Linked DNA regions of Homo sapiens: region 2 is linked to region 1. Evidence: promoter capture Hi-C in 16 types of primary human blood cells and fetal thymus (Javierre and others, 2016). All regions are on one chromosome and are shown on one strand. The core of a region is centred on a gene start or on the middle of the fragment in contact, and the rest is flanking DNA. Distances in the headings are between cores, read along the strand shown.

Evidence for each region. The method cuts DNA at HindIII sites, captures the fragments that hold promoters and counts their contacts. A CHiCAGO score of 5 or more calls a contact.
Region 2: a fragment that was not itself captured here is called in contact with the fragment with the promoter of NIFK in region 1 in 1 of 17 cell types (fetal thymus); the score reaches 5.3 in fetal thymus.

Annotation. Positions count from the first base shown.
Region 1 is chr2:121,732,694-121,739,735 of GRCh38, forward strand. NIFK (nucleolar protein interacting with the FHA domain of MKI67) reads right to left here and starts at 4,182. Exons shown (of 7, transcript NM_032390.5): 1 at 4,053-4,182; 2 at 2,920-3,057. The coding sequence starts at 4,157. RefSeq lists an enhancer at 4,069-4,118 and a silencer at 4,219-4,668. The HindIII fragment of the contact is 3,379 bases long and covers 3,882-7,042 here.
Region 2 is chr2:152,711,294-152,718,558 of GRCh38, forward strand. It overlaps PRPF40A (pre-mRNA processing factor 40A), which reads right to left and starts at 6,168. Exons shown (of 26, transcript NM_001365597.4): 1 at 5,937-6,168; 2 at 4,702-4,833. The coding sequence starts at 6,146. It also overlaps a transcript of ARL6IP6 not described here. RefSeq lists enhancers at 5,868-6,167, 6,716-7,265, 6,888-6,957, 6,978-7,067 and a silencer at 6,568-6,667. The HindIII fragment of the contact is 745 bases long and covers 5,128-5,872 here.

The sequences.
Region 1 (7,042 bases), core at 2,932-5,431:
GAGGGGAAGGCCAGGCGCGGTGGCTCACCCCTGCAATCTCAGCACTTTGGGAGGCCGAGGGTGGATCATCTGAGGTGAGGAGTTCAAGACCAGCCTGGTCAACACGGTGAAACCCCATCTCTACTAAAAATATAAAATATTCACTTTGGGAGGCCAAGGAGGGTGGATCTCAAGGTCAGGGGTTTGAGACCAGCCTGGCCAACATGGTGAAACCCCATCTCTACTAAAAATACAAAAAATTAGCTGGGCATGGTGACATGTACCTGTAATCCCAGCTACTCAGGAGGCTGAGCCAGAAGAATCACTTGAACCTGAGAGGCAGAGGTTGTAGTGAGCTGAGATCGCGCCACTGCACTCCAGCCTGGGCAACAGAATAAGACTCCATCTCAAAAAAGAAAAACTAGGCCAAGAGGGGTGGCTCATGCCTGTAATCCCAGCACTCCAGGAGGCCGAGGTGGGTGGATCACCTGAGGTCAGGAGTTCGAGACCAGCCTGGCCAAAATGGTGAAACCGTGTCTCTACTAAAAATACAAAAATTAGGCCGGGCACAGTGGCTCACACCTGTAATCCCCACACTTTGGGAGGCCGAGGCAGGTGGATCACCTGAGATTGGGAGCTCAAAATCATCCTGACCAATATGGTGAAACCCCATCTCTACTAAAAATACAAAAATTAGCTGGGTGTGGTGGTGCACGCCTATAATCCCAGCTATTCAGGAGGCTGAGGCAGGAGAATCACTTGAATCCGAGAGGCTGAGGGTGCAGTGAGCCAAGACTGTGCCACTGCACTCCAGCCTGGGCAACAGAGTGAGACTCCATTTAAAAAAAAAAAAAAAATTAGCCAGGCATGGTGGCAGGCACCTATAATCCCAGCTACTCGGGAGGCTGGGGCAGGAGAATCACTTGAATCCGGGAGGCGGACATCGCAGTCAGCTGAGGAACTGTGCCACTGCACTCCAGCCCGGGCGACAGAGTGAGACTCCGTCGCAAACAAAACAAAACCAAAACAAAACAAAAAAAAAATGAATAGAATGAAATAGAAAATCAGCGCATCACACAAAACAAGTTTAAATATTGTCTCATTTGGCTTTTATTTCAGTTATGCTTACATGCATATGTATGTGTGCTGGTTTGTGCTGTAAAACTTTTTTTAAAACCCTCATCTTCTTTGTGATGGTAAAAACTTACCTCTTATTGTGAGCCAAAGTCTGCAAAATACTCTTCTAGAAAATTCTGCCTATACCTGTACAAAGATTGTTCCTAGCAGCTTAATCTAAAGAGTTAAAAATATTAAAAAACCTAATGTTCGGGCTGGGCACAGTGGCTCGCTCATGCTTGTAATCCCAGTACCTTGGGAGGCCGAGGTGGGCGGATCATCTGAGGTCAGGAGTTTGAGACCAGCCTGGCCAAAACAGTGTTTAGTAGAAACACTGTTTCTACTAAAAATACAAAAATTAGCCAGGTGCAGTGGCCGGTACCTGTAATCCCAGCCACTCAGGAGGGTGAGGAAAGAGAATCACTTGAATCTGGGAGGCAGAGGTTGCAGTGAGCCGAGATCGCCCCCCAAAACAAAACCTAATGTTCAATAGGAGGGTGGATAAACTTTAGTAACCTAAGTAATGAGCAATGATGATAACAAAGGCAATAGAGTTACATGGATAAAGCTCAGATTATTGAATACAAAAATTCAGCTGAAGAATGATAGAGTAATATAATTTTAAAATAATACCATATGTACATTTATATATGTACACATATGTATTCTAGTACATATATATATAGTAAAAACTTATATATAGCAATGAAAACTGAATTTGTGGCCGGGCGCACTGGCTCACGCCTGTAATCTCAGCACTTTGGGAGGCCGAGGCGGGAGGATCACAAGGTCAGGAGTTCGAGACCAGCCTGGCCAACATAGTGAAACCCCGTCTCTAGTAAAACACACAAAAAATTAGCCAGGCATGGTGGCAGGCGCCTGTAATCCCAGCTACTTGGGAAGGTGACGCAAGGAGAATTGCTTGAACCCGGGAAGCGGAGGTTGCAGTGAGCTGAGATTGTACCACTGCACTCCAGCCCGGGCGACAGTGCAAGCCTCAGTCTCAAAAAAAAGAAAACTGAATTTGTGAATTTAATTCCCTAATTAAAGAAGTTGAAGAGCACTGGGAAGGGTACAAAAGGGACCTCAATTCTACCTACAATCTATCTTTACGACAACTAACAGATGATGGATGTGCACCCTATCCCCCACATGCTAAATCAAATAGGTGTCTATGGCTACAACCAATTAAAGTTTATGTGCGGGGAAAGAAAAGAAAGTGGGTCACTCCTCCACTATTGAAACAAGCTATGTAAAGCGTTTTCTCATTAGAAGGCAGGTATGACACAAATAGTAATTATACTTATATAGTGTTTATTGTGTACCAAGCAATCCTCTAAAGACTTTATATTTAACCTTTGACTAAATACTCCCAGGAAGTTTTACTTATATTTAACAGATCACAACACTGAAACATGGTAAGGTCATATCACTCTAACTAGTAAGGTGTAGAGCCTGACCCCAAACCTCAGCAGTCCAACTCCAGAGTCCTCACCTTTAACTATTCACTATATAAACCTTTGCTATTATAAGGATGCTTGTACCAAAGGCTAACACAAGAAAATGTATAAACCTGGGCCTCATACTAAAGCTCATTTACCAGGACTGTCAATTTAATGTAAGGATTTGGAGAAATGTAAAAAACAAACTTTTACAATAATACTGATTTTGCTCCTGTAGCTGTTTCAGATTCTAAACCTCCTCCACTCTCCTTTTTGGAATGAAATCTGATAAGCAATAATGTATGCGTGAACGTGCTCTTTAATGTCAAGGATAATACACATTTGAAAAACAAAACATTAAATCCAACTGCAAAAATCTTACCCTTTTACTTCTGGACAGCCTGAACCGTGTCACAGTGCCAAACTGGGAGAAATATGAAAAGATCTGGGTTTCGTCAAGTAGGTTAGGTAGGTGGCGCACATAGACTACTCCAGGAGTAAGTTGTTCTTGTTTTTTTCGCTAAAGACGTAAAGACCAGGTAAATTAAATATATAAATAAGAAAATCACATTGTAACAAAACCCCTAGCCCTCGGCCCAAGAACCTATTCTGCATTTCCACTTACCACAGTAGTAATTAAAGAACTGGCTGTTTAGTGTTTCTCTCCCCACAAAGGCCATGGTCAAGCAGTAGTCAACTATCTTTCCAGCCTGGCATCCCAGCACCCAGTATAATATTAGAGCTCAATAACTATGTCAATCAACGGATAAGCAAGGACATCTTTGAACAAGCCATTTTAGATCTTCTGCCCAGAGAACTCTACATAAACGTAGGCTTCAATTTGGTATGCATATTACTGTTTACTCGCACTTCATCGAAAAATTTTCGATACGCTTGTTAACTCTCACGGTACAGATTAGCCTTTCAACGTCTCAGTCATCATAGCCTTACCTCTGTAACAGGAACTTCTAAGTTTTCCTGTGTATTTTATGCTAAAAACCACAGAAAGTATAAGCGATGTCAGGGGCCCTAGTCAGCAAGTGGAACCTGGCAAATACTCTATTTTAATAACTCCCAGATCACCAACCCGGCATACAAACTTCCCGAATGTGTTAAGTCTGGGGCTCCCATTTTTGGGGGAAACGCGGAAGCGTGACAGCTCTAACCCGGAGATAACCTGTGGTATAGGAGCCTATTCCCTCCAGCTGGTTCTTTCTACTGCTTCTGTCACCCCAATACTTCCCCGTTACCCTCCACATGAAGGCTCCAGGGCCTCAGCGGCCAAACCCCTCCATCATTTACCGAACAGCGTAAACCCTTTCGTCTCGGAAACCGTGGCCTGCAAGCTTAAGAGGTCGGTCCCTGATTCGGTCGAATCCACTTGGGAGACCCTGGAGGTAATGAAGGCGAGCACGAAGGCAAGGGGCGCCCGGGCCGGAAACCGTGCAACCCCAGATACCCTCTAGACCCGGTCCATCGCCCCCGCTCGCAGCCTGGGCCAGGGTGCCTGCTCACCTGGGTTATGCGCTTGCGAACCTGCGCCACCTCCTTTTGAAACTCGACATCTTCCTGCGGATTAAGCGACAGGATTGGCCCAGCCGGGCCAGAAAAAGTCGCCATGCCAAAAGCCGCCGACGCTAACCACGCGGCGCTCCCGGAAACGTCGGGCTCCCAGCTCCCCCGAGGCGGAAGTAGAGGCAGGACAGGGGCGGGGCGAAGCGCTAAGGCGAGGCGAGGCGTGGCGAGGGGCGGGGAGGGCCATGAGTCGGGCGCGGGGTTGGAGCAGGAGTTGCCCGGAGAAGCGGGGGCGGGGCACGGGGTGTGGCGAGGCGCGGGGCGGGGCATAAATTGCGCCAGGGGCGAGGGCGGGGCACGAGGTCGTGCCGAGAGACTGGGAGAGGCGTGAGTCGCGCGGAGGCGCGACATGGGGCGTGACGAGGAGCGGAGGGCGGGGCGTGAGTAGCGCCGAGGCGCGGAGGCGGGGCGCAGGGGCGTGCCGAGGCGCGGCAGCGGGGTCTGGGGCTGGGGCTGGGCCGTGGGGAGCTCCCGCACCCTCGGCTGTCGGGGCGCCGGCTGGCTTCGCTTAAGAGTGCCTGAAACAATTACGTTCACGCCTACTTTCAAAAAAGGTCTAAAATAAATTCCAAAACAGTACCTGTGTCCTTGAGATGCTGCTCTCATTCCTCAATTTGCTTATTATTATTATTATTTTTTTTTGAGACAGAGTTTCGCTTTGGTTGCCCAGGCTGGAGTGCAATGGCGCAATCTCGGCTCACTGCAACTTCCAACTTCCGCCTCCCGGGTTCAAGCGATTCTCCTGCCTCAGTCTTCCGAGTAGCTGATTACAGGCGCCCGCCACCACTCCCAGCTTAATTTGTACGTTACCACTCCCAGCTTAATTTGTATGTTTAGTAGAAACGGGGTTTCACCATGTTGGCCAGGCTGGTCTCGAACTCCTGACCTCAGGTGATCCACCCGCCTCAGCCTCCCAAAGTACTGGGATAACAGGCGTGAGCCACCGCGCCCGGCCCTAATTTGGTTATTCTTTCACTCACTTGTGTGTGAGCTCTCCTGTGTGGCCCCGTCCGTCCGCGGCCCTTGGAGAACTTACAGCCTGAGGGCAGCATGGCTGCTTTAAGAGACCAAAGAGGCTTGTGGGGGAGAGGCACACTGGGTGGCGCCGGAGGGTCCCCCTTAGGAGGTGGCGTTAGCACCGAGGCCTGAAGGCTAAAGAGCGGGGTGTGGAGAACCGAGCGCCTGCCGTCCGCTGGACCGGACAGGCCTGCACAGTGTTCCTAGGTCTAGAAAGAAGGACGCGGCAGTGGGGTTGGAGCCCAGCACAGGAGGGAAGAGCTGCGAGGCGGCAGGCTGGAGCCCCATGACTGTGTGTCAAAGTATGAAACTGGGGTTTTGTAAATGCGAGGGGATGGGCGGGTTTAAAGCGAGGCTGTGGCTGTTTGCATCTTTCTTTTCTTTTTTTTTTTTTGAGACGGAGTCTCGTTCTGTCGTCCAGGCTGGAGTGCAGTGGCGCGATTTTGGCTCACTCACTGCAACCTCCGCCTCCTGGGTTCAAGCAATTCTCCTTCCTCAGCCTCCCGACTAGCTGGGACTACAGGTGCACACCACTACTCCCGGCTAATTTTTGTATTTTTAGTAGAAACGAGGTTTCGCCATTTTGGCCAGGCTGGTCGAGAACCCCTGACCTTAAGTGATCTACCCGCCTCGGCCTCCCAAAGTGCTGGGATTACAGGCGTGAGCCACCGCACCCGGCCTGTTTGTACCTTTCAAATACTATTATACTAGTGAGTAACTGAGTGGAGAGGAAGGGTGGGGAGTGGATTGCCGAGGAAGCAGGGAGGTGAGGCGAGAGCGACAGATCAAGCACAGCTGGTGTCAGGGGATAGCTGCGGCCGTGTTCTGGAAGCCGTGAAGGCGGCCCAGGGTGTGTGTGCCCGAAGAGTGGCCTGTGGGCCTGAGGTGGAGGCCCTGGGAGGGAGTGCCAAGCGAGGCCAGCCCACTTCCTCTGACAGACGTGCCTCCCACGCTCACAGTCTTCGCCTCCTTCACCCCTGCACCCTCCGGCTCAGCGCCACCGTCACCCCCAAGGGGGCATCCCTGACCCTGTAGCAAAGTCAGTTCTTCCAGTTAAGCGCTGTCTTCCCATTGTGTTTTCATGGGTAGGCTGGATTTTCGGGAGTGAGCGAGCAAGAGCAATTTGATTCTTTTTCAGGGCTGCCCCTTTCCATGGGCTTGTTCTTGCTCCCCCCAGGATGAAATCTTGGGGAGAGCTCCGCACTTGTGATTGCTCCTCAGATGTCAGTCAATAGAAGCATGTTCCACGCGTTCAAAATCTAATATCAAATGTCTCCTCTCCCCAGCTCAGTGTCTCTGGCAGAGAAATCCCCAAAGGGGAGCACAGTCCACATCGTCTTTATTCTTGGCTCCACTTTCTCTGTACACCCCAGTTTCTGTTTTTGGGCTTTCCAGGATTAGGACAGGGAAGAGAGGGAGGAGAAAGCAGAAAGGGGCTCCTTGCTGGCAGGTGCCACGTGGCCAGGGAGTTTTAGAGGCTGCAAATGCCAGGTTGCTGGCACCTTGTCTCCAAGCACACTTTTGAGGTGTCCCTCACCTGGCTGCTCATGACTCTACCTGCCTGCCAGCCGAGGTCAGCTCTGTGCCCAGAGGCTCCTCCTGGAAGGGCCTTTCCAAGTGGACTTTATCATCCTGATCCTTTAAGAAGGGCCACATGTTTTGTCTGTCACTGCCATGGGATTGCTGCCAGGCAGGCCTCCTGGCTGGCATCACAGATGTTGGTGTATAAACCAGGTACAATCCCTGTATCCCCCAAATTCCAGAGGATGTAGATAAGTTCACTGGTTCCCTGAAGGTACCATCCGTGTCCTCGTGTGTGTGTGCGTGTGTGTGTGTGTGTGTGTGTGTGAACACTCCCCTCCTTCCTGAAGGTGGAATCTTGACATGTCTCATAGCTACTTAGGGGAGATGAG
Region 2 (7,265 bases), core at 4,250-6,749, about 31 Mb after region 1:
CTTATAATACCTTACACAATGTAAATGCTATAAAAGTTATTATACTTTATTTTTAAAAATTTGTATTTTTTTGTTGTTGCTTTTTTAAAGACTATTTTCCATCGCAGTTGCTTGAATCTCTGGATACAGAGGGTCGACTGCAAATGGAAATATTTTAGTTTTATTCTCCAAACAAAAATTATTTATTTCATCTTATTTATCTTCCATTTTTGTCAAATGAAAAAGTAAGAGTAAAGAGGCAGACACTAAAAACAAGAATAAGTAGTAACAACGTAAAGTCACAAGTAACCACTGGAAACAGTCACATTTAACACTGACTGACTTATGGGCTTATACTGCAGGAAAGAATACCTGTGTATTTGTTTCATTCATTCAACAAGTATTTTACTGAGCACCCATGATGTGCCAAGAACTGTGCTCAGCACCTATAGGCTTCTTAAAAAGTACAGAACATAGCCCCTGCCCTCTAAGAGCTTACAATCTATTACTTGTTGGAAAATTAAAGCAAATTAAGAAACCATAAAACAAGTCAATAACTAGGTGCCAAAATAAGTGAAACGGTAAGAGTTATGGGTAGATTACAAATATTTTCTTTAATAATCTGAAGGGGAGGTATATGTTGGCAAAAGTCATTTTTGAGAAACTTTTGGAGAAGGCAGGACTTGAAATAGTACAACATAGGTAAGCAAAGCAAACTTCATGGTGATACTGAGCTGGGGGCAGGAGGGTAAGAAGAACAGCCTAAGTTTGAAGTTGTGAACTAATATAATCACTCAAGACACCGTGAAAAGACCAGCCTAAGTTCAAATTAGGGAGTGTAAAGACATGCAGCCTTGAATCCTGCTTTGACATGTACTATGGGGAGGTTCTTTAAAGTTAAGCTGTGGAATTTAGATACTATGTTATAGGCACTGAAAGTACTGGAGATTCTTGGGCAAGGAGATAACACATTGAAATCTAAAATTTGTGGGGGCAGGGGGGCATCCTTGAAGCAAGAAAACCAACTCAACTCAAAAACTGTTGAATAACCTAGGCATGGGAGAGTGACGACTTGGGCTCATGTGGTAGCAGGAACTGAAATAAAATAAGATCTATTAGAGCCAGCCTTACTCAATATAGGAGCAAGAAAATCAAACTCATTTGTAAAAAGCAATTATTCATTTATCAGTTTACTGACCAAAGACCAAAAAAAAAAAGCACTGAATAAATAGAATTAGGGAGGCATTACTAAAGGAATTTTCTGTTCTTTCCATATCATCCCATAAAATCTGATATCTACTCTTATCAAATGATCTGAACTGAATCATAGGATGTTAGAGCTGAAAGGGACCTTAACTCAATTACTCTACTCTTCTCACTGATAGAGGAAAATAAAGACTCAAATAGGGAGGAAAAAAAAAGAGCCAGCTAGCATGACTCTGGGGCAAAGGCATAATCATCTGTGATAAAGATGGCAGGACCTGCATGTCCTTTGTGTAGAAAACACAAAAGACATGAAAACAGTATTTACTATGGACACTGAGGAAGAAGACAGCCTCACACATAATTTTATTGATAGAAATCTCTACAGAAAATCTTTATTTTTTTGAGATAGGGTCTCACTTTGTCACCCAGGATGGAGTGCAAGGCGTGATCTTGACTCACTGCAGCCTCGACCTCCCAGGTTCAAGCAATCCTTCTGCCTCAGCCCCCTAAGTAGCTGGGACGACAGACGCACACCACCACACCCAGCTTATTTTTAAATAGTTTTTGTAGAGATGGGGTTTCACCATGTTGCCCAGGCTGGTCTCCAACTCCTGAGCTCAAGCGATGCACCCGCCTCAGCCTCCCAATGGGAAATTTTTGAGTACTGCCATCCAGCAGGGAAAATTCTTTATCTTTCTTTACTAACATTTAACCAGTGATCCTCAAAGCATCTTAAATCACATATTATTTAAAGCTTAAACAACCTGTAAGGTCCCTTTCAGCTATAAGATCCTATAACTCTAAAAGTATGACTTTCCTATAAAGTTATATAGAATAAGAGGCAAATTTAATCTACAAGATAGAAAACTGAAATAAACCTGAAAGAATATTAAGCTCAATTTGATAATCATCAAATATTTATTACTACTAAGAGTCAGCCTAAATGCATGAGATGGCACTCTAGGTCATCTCATGAATTAAGAAAAAAAAAATTTGAACACACCACTTCTTTAAGCTAAATAGCTTGATGCATTTGAGAAATTATGAACCCTGGCTTCCGTACATCATTATGCTACCCAGTCTGCATATTATTTTACAAACAAGTTTTACAGTTTCATGTCATATTGGTAACATTCCAAAGACCACAATTATTTGGCAAGTAAGACTGCCACCAATTTTAGTCTTTAGCTAGTCCCAGCATGAGATGTTCATGCAAACCAGTCAACACATGAAGGTTTTTATAACCTTCAGTCCCAAAGTCTAAAGAATTTGTGAACTGACTTTTTTAAATTGCATGGCAGAACCCTCCCAACTGTCACTACTGTGAATGATACAGACAGACATCCTGCTTCTTCTCAATTATCTTCTGACCACTTATTCCTCCTGAGTACTTCCAAGAGTGGCAGAAGAAATAATGCAGGAAAAAGGATCAATTGTCCTATTTATTATCACCTTTAATTTTTAAAGCAATGTTTACAGAGTTTCAAATATGATTTCTGATTTGAGAATTCAAATTATCCATGCTCTCCCAGTCTGTTATAAAGCTAAAACAAGAATTTGTTTTACCAAGATTTGGGACCCATATTTGTTAGTGAAATATTAAGGGGATAAAAGGGAATTATATAATTCTGACAAAAACAGCGGAGATTCTTTTGGGACTTTCAGGGCATAACTCCTACTAAAACATTTATTTATTATACTAACAGGAGCCTTCAGAGGGAGAAGAATTCTAAACATCTAAATAATTAGGTCTACTTAAAGGCACGTGGCATATATTAGCCTAGGAAAAAGTAGAAGAAAACCACACCAAAAAAATCAGTTATTTGAATGGATGTGTACCGAGTAGCAAGTAAACTTACTAGAAAGATGGTCACTGATACAGCTAAAGAGAAAGGGCCATAAAGCAAACTGTGACCAGCTTATGTCAATGAGATACATGAAAGTACTTTTAAAAAATAAAATCTGCATTTTTTTTTTTAACTAGAACTATGACTAGCTGGTATCTTGGTTTTGGTAGTGCAATAGCACCATTACAGCAAGGGTAAGCAGGTCAATCCCTTGCAAAACTTACCTTGATTGGCCCAATGGAAACAGAAGGCCCCAGAAAAGAGAGAAGCATCTGGCAGTAGCAAATTGTTTTATTTTATCTTTCTGTGGAAAGAAACTAATTTTAAATAAGAACCAGAGCATTTAAAGAATAAATATTTTTAAAGCTCATTATCTAGTTAGAGCAGCTCTACCAAGAAAACAAGAAGAGCTCCTTGCTCCTTAGAGATGGAAAGAAACAGAAGAGGAATCAAAGTTGTTTCTCCATCACCTAGAGAGTTTTAAAATTTGTGTTATTCTAGAGTAACAGAATAAAAGGCTCTTTTATTTAAAGAACTCCTGCAAGCAGAATCTTTTGGGGCTGGTGCCTTTGAATAAAGGTTTTGTTTTGTTTTTTAACAAAATTAAGGGCAATATTCCAAATTAAAAAAAAAAAGAGGAAAATCACTGGACATTAAGCCCTTCTACTCTTAAGGTTAAGTAAAAAGAGACAGACACATAGCAAGCTCCTTTTCCCACTGCAATTTCACCAATAACTTTAACCATGAAAGCTTAAACAATTATCAAACAGTACTAATTAGCAAAAGATCACATGAAATTGGCTTCCAAAATATTTTGTTAGCCTAAATTTTTGATGATTTATGGAAATACTCAAATGGAAATAACCCAGCCACCTAAAGATCTATTATAGAACTTAACATGAAGCACAAAATTACTCATGGTAACTGAACCTGTTACCTTTCTTGGATGCTTCTCTAGAAACTCAGTTCTACCGAAATCACTGAATCAGCATTAAAACCTTTTGATCCAAATCACTCCTACAAAATGTCCATTTACAATTTATGCTAGAGATGGAAGGGACAGCTCATAAGCAGGAGTGTAGAAGCAACAAGCATTAAAAAAAAATAGTATAAGTGGAAAATGAACTACCTATTGGCACTGTCCTATGAAGAATCAGAATTATAGAGCACAAACTCCCCACCCTCCCTCACCCTCCTCCAACACACAAAGAGGAAGATATTTCAGGAATAAAATTCGCTCTAAACCAAAACAATAGCTATTTTCAGATTCTATTTATTTACATGGTCTACCAAAATCAGTTATGTTGCTGTATCAGATAATATTTACTTAGACCATCAACTTCAATTGGCATTCTTGAAAAAATAATCATTAAAAATAAAAGCCTGGATCCACACTTTACTTTTAAATAATAAAGAAAAAAATTCTTAGTTTTGAGGTCATCAGTAAATTTCTCAGAAGACTTTTTCATTATTTAAATTTCTCAGAAGACTTTTCCATTATTCAAATTTCCGTTACAGTCATGATTTAACATTTGGCTTATTTGAAATTATTCGGGCATAAACTAATCATTAAACAGCTATAACTACTGACCTAGATTCTGAAATCTTGATAGAATACCTGAGGCAAAAACAAATAAATAAATGCAAAATAAAACAAAAACAGTCTTACTTGTCCCATTGGTGGCCCTCCCATAGGGGGCATCATCTGCGGCATCATTCCATGAGGTACAGGAGGCATATTCGCTCTCTGACCCATAGGGTGCATTCCCATTGGGGCATAATGCATGCCAGGGTGCCCCATCTGAAAAACAGTGAACATTTTTAAATGAGCAAATAATACTAAATGCTTCTCAAAAATCTCATTTCAACAGATCAGTTATCTGAAGCGACATAATATTAAGCTTATGTGTAATAACATCATTGGATTAGTCTATACCTTGTTTCAAACAAAACGCATTCTGCTAGTATTTAAAACGAGCTTGCAAATTCCGTAAAAAAATGGGAAAAGTTAAGATGAATCCTGGACCGCTGGATCATAGGTTTTCTCTCTCTTTTTTTTAAGCACTGACTTAACCAGCTACTAATTGGCTTGCTAAGCTTGGAGGATACACATTGAATACTAATTTTAAAACTGTTATGGTGAAAACAACAACTCTCCTATTTCATGCAGATATAAAAGATAGCCAGCTATTGTTATTTTATAACACTACTGATTTTAAACTTTAAAATGCTCTATCCAATTAACTCAGGTGAGAGTCGGTCTTACAAAACACAAACAGTATGGCTACCCAGGCACAATTCACTCCTAACAAACTTATTTCCTAACATAACCTTTAAGACAGGTAAAATTCCTTCTGCCAAAAATACATTTTCAAAGACTGAGGTTCTGTCACTCACGGACACTAAATGCAAACAACTAATTCATCCTTTTTAACGCAGTTTAAAAAGACAACTACTTTCTTTACCGATGAGTCCATTGTTCTATGTTTTAAATTAAAACCACCTAATTATCTCCTGCCAATTGTCCCAACAGTTCCCCCTGCAGACCACCCCGACGACTAATGAAAACAAATTTTGGCAGCCGCTGTTAAAGTCTTACAGTATCAAGCCCCTGCCTCCCCCTCCCAGCTAAAATCGGGCCTAAAGCTCCAAGACGCTCACCCCGCCCAAGAGCCAGCACCTTCACCACGCATCTGTCTAGGCCAAGCCCACGGGGAACTTCCAGGGTCTCACATCCTTCTCTTTGTGCATTTCCACCCTCCACTTCTCTCCCTCAGAACATATCCCACCATCTCGAGTTCTTCCTTCGTCCACTCTTATCTTCTTCTCCTTTCGGAGAAAGCTTCCTGTTTCTCACTCCGTTTTTCATTGTGCCGCCTTCCCCCTGCCCCACTGATCCCTTACCGAGGGCCGTCTCCTCAGGAAGCCGTCAGCAGAGACCCAAGAGCCGGAGCAGAGGCTTGAGCCGGACAATCTCCGCTCCCCGTCCCCAGGACCCTGCGAGGGAGGATGGCTCTCCATTTCACTCACCATGAGGCCTCCACGCTCAGCTCCCGTCCCCGGCCTCATCGTCGGGCTCAGACTGCTCCGCCGGCGGCCACTGCCGCTACACATACCAACAAGAAGCGATCTGAGTGGCTGGCGCCCACTGGGGCTAAAGGTTAAAGGCTGCCCTGCGCTACGGGGCGGGATCAGCGGGGCCAACAGGCTGACGGGCTTCCCCGCTGTCCAATCAGAATGCGCCGCCGACACGCAGCTCTGCGGCGATTCGCCCCCAGCCTCAGCCTCACTCGGCGTCGCCTGCATGGGGGGGGGGGAGGAGGAGGACGGAGGAAGTTTCTGCGCCGAGTCCTCCGTCGGGAAAACTCTACCAACTTCCCCAGGGGAAGGGAAGACAACAGTGTCCCAGCTTCCCGAGCTTAGACCGCCTCACCCCGTAGGGGGTGGGGCAGTGGGGGTCTGCCACCTTCACCCTCCCCGCCCGAGTTACGTACGCCCCACAAACCTGAGGCCGCCAGGGGTAGGGTGGAGGGGGCGGGGGTAAGCAGCCTGTAGTGTTAGCGGTGGCTGGGACCGAATGCGCGCGCGCGGTGCTCGAGGCGGAGGGGAGGAGGCGGGGAAGGCGAAAGGAGGGGTTCGGAGGAGAGGGTTCGATCTCCGTACGCACCAGGTGGAGAGCGCGCGCCTGGGGAAGGAGGCGTGTCGAGTAGCGGGAGGGAAGTTGTAGTACGGGTGGGGAGAACCACACTAAAGGGAGATGGGGGTGAGCAGTTAAGGAACCGCGAGAGCGCCAGGTAGAGAGGTGCCCTTAATGGGGGAACCTGGAGAAGAGTGTGAGCGTAGTGGGGAAGAAGGGAGAAGACAAATAGGTTCGGGAATGTGTCTCCGAGGGCGCGAGCGGGCGCTAGGACCCGGCGTCGAAAAGATGAGGCTTTGGGGCTGTCGGGGCGCGCGCTCCCGTTGGTGACGCGGGGGTGGCGGAGGTCTCCGGCCGGGACGAAGCCCCGCAGGGAGTGGATACTCGACAGCCTTCGGCCTCCGCTCGCTTCTCCCTGCGCGCTTTCCTGCTCCCCTTTCCGGCTACAGCCCTGGGGTCGAGCTCTGGTCGAAGCGCATTCCGCCTCTCCTTTGGCCCTGCGGCTTCCTTTGCAACCCGCCGCCCACCCTTGCTCTCCGTGGTTTACCCCTGGGCTCTGAGGCCTGGTGGTAGCGGCCACTGCCGCGGATTGGCTG